2 separate regions of the Homo sapiens genome follow, and region 1 is linked to region 2. Evidence: promoter capture Hi-C in human tissues and cell types (Jung and others, 2019). All regions are on one chromosome and are shown on one strand. Each heading gives the region's core, a stretch centred on a gene start or on the middle of the fragment in contact. The rest is flanking DNA. Distances are from core to core; before and after follow the strand shown.

Evidence for each region. Contacts are between HindIII fragments. The study calls those that stand out against the background at their distance.
Region 1: a fragment that was not itself captured here is called in contact with the fragment with the promoter of ITGA8 in region 2 in 2 of the 25 tissues and cell types used here (aorta and mesendoderm cells).

The regions. Positions count from the first base shown.
Region 1 is chr10:15,798,569-15,802,020 of GRCh38, forward strand. The region is part of intron 10 of MINDY3 (MINDY lysine 48 deubiquitinase 3); the gene reads right to left. The region is part of intron 2 of LOC124902383 (a long non-coding RNA gene); the gene reads left to right. Among named protein-coding and RNA genes, the nearest start is that of MINDY3, 60 kb to the right of the region's middle. The HindIII fragment of the contact is 6,130 bases long and covers 1-3,452 here.
Region 2 is chr10:15,718,437-15,721,634 of GRCh38, forward strand. It overlaps ITGA8 (integrin subunit alpha 8), which reads right to left and starts at 1,486. Exons shown (of 30, transcript NM_003638.3): 1 at 1,127-1,486; 2 at 330-463. The coding sequence starts at 1,335. The HindIII fragment of the contact is 28,165 bases long and covers 1-3,198 here.

The DNA of each region.
Region 1 (3,452 bases), core at 372-2,871, 80 kb after region 2:
ACTTAGTTAGAGACCAGACTGGCCAACATGGTGAAACCCCATCTCTACTACAAATACAAAAAATAGCTGGGTGTGGTGGCAGGCTCCTGTTAACCCAGCTACTTGGGAGGCTGAGGCAGGAAAATCATTTGAACCTGTGAGGCGGAGGTTGCAGTGAACCAAGATCATGCCATTGCACTCCAGCCTGGGCAACAGGGCAAGACTCTGTCTCAAAAACAAACAAACAAACAAAAAACCACTATGCCAACGTAGAAAGAAATTAAAGTAAACCTTAATGAAAAGTATACCACACATCTCTTTCTTGCCTGTGGTTCTGAACAGGCTATACAAGCTCACCTGCTATAGAAAGAGCATTTGGAACTTAGGCAAAAATCTCGGTGGACTCTAGTTAACATGTGTTCATTTAGAGCAGGGTTTGGCAAGCATTTTTCTGTAATGGGCCACAGAGTAAATTTTTATAGTAAATTTTTATGTTTTGCAGGGCATATGGTCTTAGCAGCAAAACACATGGCCATGGCTATGTTCCAATAAAACTTTACTGAAGCAGGTGGTGACTTTATTTGGCCTGAGGGCCATTTGCTGACCTATGATTTAGATAATATATTACATATTTTTTCCCCCAAATGCTCTAACATTTATTTATTTTTTTTAGATGGAATCTTGCTCTGTTGCCCAGGCTGGAGTGCAGTGGTGTGATCTTGCCTCACTGCAACCTCCACCTCCCAGGTTCAAGCAAATCTCTGCCCCAGCCTCCCTAGTAGCTGGGATTACAGGCATCCACCACCATGCCCGGCTAATTTTTGTATTTTTAGTAGAGACCGGGTTTCACTATCTTGGCCAGGCTGGTCTTGAACTCCTGACCTCATGATCCACCCACCTCAGGTTCCTAAAGTGCTGGGATTACAGGCTTGAGCCACTGCAACCAGCCTTTAACATTTATTAAACATGCCAACTTTTTGATATATGGGGGGAGTAAAGACATCTTAATCACTTTTACAGATTTTACAAAGAATATATTTTGGCTATTAGCAGAAATAGAAAAGAGGGCACAGAATTCTAGCTAGAAGGAACGGAATCAGGAAAGGCAGGGAGATGTGACTTCATAGCACACAGGGAAACTGAAAAAGGTGAACAGGACTGAGAACTGTGACAGAAAAGGAGGACTTAGGAAGGGAAATGAGCTTTGACAGAAGAATGAATTTGATTTTCGAACTTTTAGAGTTTGGAGGTAATGGTTAAACATCCAAGTAGAATACATGGAGTTATCTTAATACTTGGCACACTACGAACACTCACTGTTAGCTAACTGCGAGCTTCTCGTGAGCTATTAGAAATAGAATATTAGTGTTAGACTGAGGTTACGGCTGGGGAACTTGCAAGGGAAAATATTGAAAACTTATGGAAGCAGATTCCTTCAAAGAACTAAGAAGCGAGTACAGTTGATCCTCAAACAACATGGATATGAACTGCATGGGTCCACTTATATGTGAATTTTTTCTCAATAAATATATTGGAAATTTTTCTTGGAAGAAATTTTTCTTGGAAATTTGTGACAATTTGAAAAACTCGCAAACTGTGCAGCCTAGAGATATTTTCAAAAGTTAAGAAAAAATTAAGTATGCCATGCATGCATAAAATATATGTAGATACTAGTCTATTTTTTCTACTACCATGAAATGCCACAAATCTATTATAAAAAGTTAAAATGTATCAAAACAGGGGCATACGGACTGTACCTGGCACCACTCACAGTCAAGAGATGTAAACGAATGTAAAGATGCAGTATCAGATCACAACAGCATAAAATTAACTTTAGTGCATACTGTACTACTGGAATAATTTCATCACCATCTCCTGATGCTATTGTGGTGAGCTTGTGTTGTATCTGCTCAGAGCACAAGTATGGCGCTAATCATCTCCGCATGTGCAGCCCATCACTCCAGTGAGTTCCACATCACAGTAAAAAGTGATCTTAAGCAGTTCTCACATACTTTTCATCATGTTTAGTGCAATACTGTAACTCTTGAAAAAAAACCATGGAACCCATATGAAGTGCCACTAGTGATGCCGGAAGTTCTCCCAAGAAACCAAAGTCAGGACGTAAGAAAAAGTGGAATTGCTTGATATGCACCATGGATTGAGGTCTGCTGCTGTGGTTGCTCACTATGTCAAGATAAATGAATCCAGCATAAATATCGTAAAGAAAGAAAAGGAAATTCCTGAAGCCATTGCTGCAGCCATACAAACCTTCCGCTTTTTGCAAAATACCTCCTTGTACAAAAAATGCAACTTGTATGTAAGTGCAGGGTTGCTATAGGAAAGGCACACCTTTAGATTCTAATATGATTTAAGAAAAAGTGCAGTCATTATACAAGCTAAAGCAAAACAAAAGTAAAGGAGCTAAAGGTGGAGAACTTAATGCCAGCAAAGGATGGTTTGATAATTTTAGAAACTGGTTTGGCTTTAAAAATATCAAGGTAACAGGAGAAGCAGCTTCTGCTAACAAAGAGGCAGCAGTTAAGTTCTCAGAAACCATTAAGAAAATCTTTGAGAAGAAAGAATATCTGCCTGAACAGGTTTTTAATGTGGACAAAGGTGTCCTATTCCGGCATGGGGGGGAAATGCCATAAAGGACATTTATAAGTAAGGAAGAGAAGGAAGCACTAGGATTTAAGACAGAAAGGAAAAGGCTACTGTTTTATGCACATGCAGTCAGGGTGATGACCAGGACTGCCCTTATTTATAAAACTGCTAAACCCAAGCTTTGAAGGGAAAAGATAACACCAGCTGCCAATCTTTTGGCTGTATAAGAAAGAAGGCCTGGAAGAGAATGCTTTCTCTGGATCAGTTCTATCAATGCTGTGTACCTGAAGTTACCTAGTACCCTGCCAGTAAGAGACCACCTTTTAAAGTTCTTTTGATATTGGACAATGTCCCTGGCCACCCAGAATCCCATGAGCTCACCACCAAAGGCACCAAAGTAGTTAACTGCCCTCAAACACAACATCACTAATACAGCCTCTAGATTAGGAGGTCATAAGGACCCTTGAGGCTCATTACACACAGTAGTCTGCAGAAAAGATGATATGGTTATTGCTATTAAAGAGAACCGCAACAGCAAGAACAACATGGAAGTCTGGTAGGATTACAGTACTGAAGAGGCCATCACTGTTACAGAAAAAGCTAATCCATCTGGCCCAAAACATATTCCTGCTAGAGAACACTGTGTCCAGATATTGTGCATGAGTTCATAGGATTTACAGAGCCAATCAGAGTAAAGGGTTTCAAGATAAAGATCTTGGAGAAATTCAAGAGCTAACAGATACCACATCAGAAGAAATAACAGAAGATGGCTTGATAGAGATGAGTGCTTCTGAACCAGTGCTGGACAATGAGGAAGATGACGTAGAAGAAGCAGGGCCAGAATACAAACTGACATTCATTATAATTTT
Region 2 (3,198 bases), core at 236-2,735:
AAGTTAGGACATAGTTTTTGTATTTCTCCAAAACATCCACTCACCCTGAAAATGCTCATCTCAGAAAGGTAAAGAAACAGGAGTTGCCAGGATGCATCCGAACACTCAGGGTCAAAATAGTGTCCTTTCTCTAGGGTTCACTAAACGTCTTCCTTCAGTTAACTGAGAGTTGAAAAAACTGATTTCTCTAGAGACCCACATAGCCCACAATACGGACATATCAGACAAGCTAAACGAGCAGCACACCAAGACAGCGGGAAGTCGCCTCTGGGATGGCCCTGGTTCTTCCAAACCCAGGCCCACAGCTTAGAAGGACAAATCTCACTTACTGGTGGTGTCAAACGGTATCTGCCTGCACTGCGCAGACCCCTCCGCGGGCCAAGGACAGTAATAGACGGCTCCCCCTTCCACGATATCGGGCTGGCTGGTGTTGGCTTTGGGCGCCCCCACCAAGACACTCGCTCTGCAAAAGAGTTGGAGAAAGTCACTCTTTGGGCGCCACAAAACCGTGCGCATGCAATGCAGTCTCTGTAACCTCCTGCCCGGGGACACTGGGGCAGGCGTGGAGGGCATGAACGTATTTATGATGAGGACCGACTGTCAAACTTGATTTCCTCTTGGAAACGGGGGTCCGCAACCTGGTTTGCAAGAATGCAAACGGTCCTGCTTCTCTAGGTGGAGCTCTGTGGGTACAGTGAGATGAGAGAAGGGGGTGGGGTAGGAGGAAGCCAAGGACAGAGCCCAGCTGCTGGTAGCCGACAGCTCTTGCGCCCAGACGCAATGGTTACAGACTCTGCATAAACAGACCTCGCTGTGGTGGCGGTTTTAACTGGCTTGGGTCTTCTGGGTCCTGTTCTCTCCTTTGTAGGATGCGTGCGTCTTGGTACCTGGAACACCCAGGACTTGCGTGTTCTATGCAAGTGGCATGTCTCTAGCTCAAAATTCACAAGGCACATCTAGCATGGCAGGGGAGAGAAGGGGCTGGTGGCGGGGAGAGGGACGGGACCCCGGGCAGGCGGCAGGACGGGGATCCCAGGCTGCGGGGGGACTCCGCGGCAGAGCCGCTGGGACCTGACCCGGGAGCGCCTTCGTCCCCGCGCGCACCTCCCCGGGTCGGGCGACTTACGTGCGGGCGTCGGGTATGTGGAAGTCCACGGCGTAGCCGAAGTAGCTGCCCTTGGGGCCGCTGTACACTGTGAGCTTTTCCACGTCCAGGTTGAACGCCTGACAGGCGGGGGACCACAGCAACATCCCCAGCGCGGCCGCGGCGCAGCAGAGGGGCGCGATCAGCGGCGCCTGGCTTCCCCGGGGACCGCGGCTGGCCCCGGGCGACATCTCCCTCCGCCCCGGTGGGTGGCTGCTACCCAGGAGCGCGAGCCGAGGACCCCTGCGGGGCAAGGGGGGCTGGTGGAATCTGGCGGTCCCCAGCTGCCCGTGTCCCGGGTCGGTGCGCTCGGCGCACCCGTGGTGACAGTGCCCGGCGTCTGCTCCCACCCGCCCGCCCGCCCAGCCGGCTCGGGGGGCTGGCCCAGGGGCTCTAGCCCTCCTCCGGCCGCGGGCAGGGACCAGCTCTCTCGCGGCGCCTCCTCGCGGCTGGTCTAGAGCCAGGGACTCCCGGGCGGCCCAGCTGGTGGCTGGAGCGCTGGGTGCCTCTTCGGGCTGCCCGGATTTCTATTGCAGTCCCATCTCAAGGACAATCAGTTTCGTCTCTGTCACCTCAAGCTATTTATTGCTTTAGAAGCAATGCCCCAGGTGGAGCGAGAGCTTGCTCCAGTTGTGTCAAAGGCGCAGCTTGGATGGAGAATGTGAAAACCAACCCCACCACCAGGAGGGGCAAAGCAATTATCTCTTCATCACCTCTGCAGCCTGACCTCAGCGTTCACGGCTTTGCACGTCTGTGATGAGAGTTAAAGTTGAAATGCAACAACCCTCTCCTCCCCTAAGTCCACCCCACCTCCTGGCAGAGCTAACTCATATACAAGAAAGCCTCGAGGGTTTTTTTTTGTTTTTGTTGTTGGGTGTCTGTGTGTGTGTGTGTGTGTGCGCGCGCGCCTGTGTGTGTGCATGTGTGAATTTTTTGTTTTTGTTTGTTTGGTTGGTTTGCTTTGTTTTATTTATTTTTTTTTTCTTTTTAGAGATAGGGTCTCTCTCTCGCCCAAGCTGGAGTGCAATGGTGCTATCATAGATCAATGAAATCTCAAACTCCTGGGCTCGAGCGATCCTCCTGCCTCAGCCTCCTGATTAGCTGGTACTGCAGATGACACATCACACCTGGTTAATTTTCTAATTTTTTTTTGTTGACACTGAGTCTGCTCATGTGGCCTAGGCTGGTCTCGATCTCCTGGCCTCAAGCCGTCCTGCCACCTCGAGTTGACTTTTAAAATTTCTTTTCTTTCTTTGTTTCTCTTTCTTTCTCCTTCTTCTTCTTCTTCTTTTTTTTTTTTTTTTTTTTTTTAAGGAGATGGGGGTCTCACCATGTTGTTCAACATGGTCTTGAACTCCTGGACTCAAGCGATCCTCCCACCTAAGCCTCCCACAGTGCTGGGATTTCAGGGTAAGCCGCCTTGCCCAGCCCTTGAGATTTTATTTAAATCTTTCTTAAAGGCATCTTGGGCATATTAAATGACTTAGTAGTAAATCTCCATCCTGTGTAATTGTGATGAAGTTTGGCGCAGTTAAGAATGTTGGAATTTACAGTTTACTTTCTGCGGGGGTAGAAGGTGTAGTTCACAGTCTACAGGAGTTCAGATTTCGGTTCTGATCCGTGGGTGTTGTCAATCTCTTCCCATGTCTCCTGTGTCGGAGAGGACGTGAGGCTTGAGTAGGGGAGGACAGAGAAGAGAAAGGAGTATAGATCCCTTTACATAACATATGGTCATTCGTTAACATTAAACAAAACAGGTCAGCATGAAACCGGAAGGAGCCGAGGTTAAACAGATATGAAGTTTAGAGACAGAAGAGCTAAGTTTTTTCTGAAGCATGTAAGAGGATTTGGTGGCAGATGTACATTTACGTAGGATTTTGAATACGGGGCTTACATTTGGGCACTGTGGGGGGAGAAGTTGAGGGAAGGTATTAATACTTAGAAAAGACAGAGATTAAATGGTTGTGCATGGGATTGGAATAAAAGGGGTGGGTTAGGAAGTGGTGGGAAATAGGGTTGACTGGATCTTCAGGAAGAGGATCTTAATAACAATA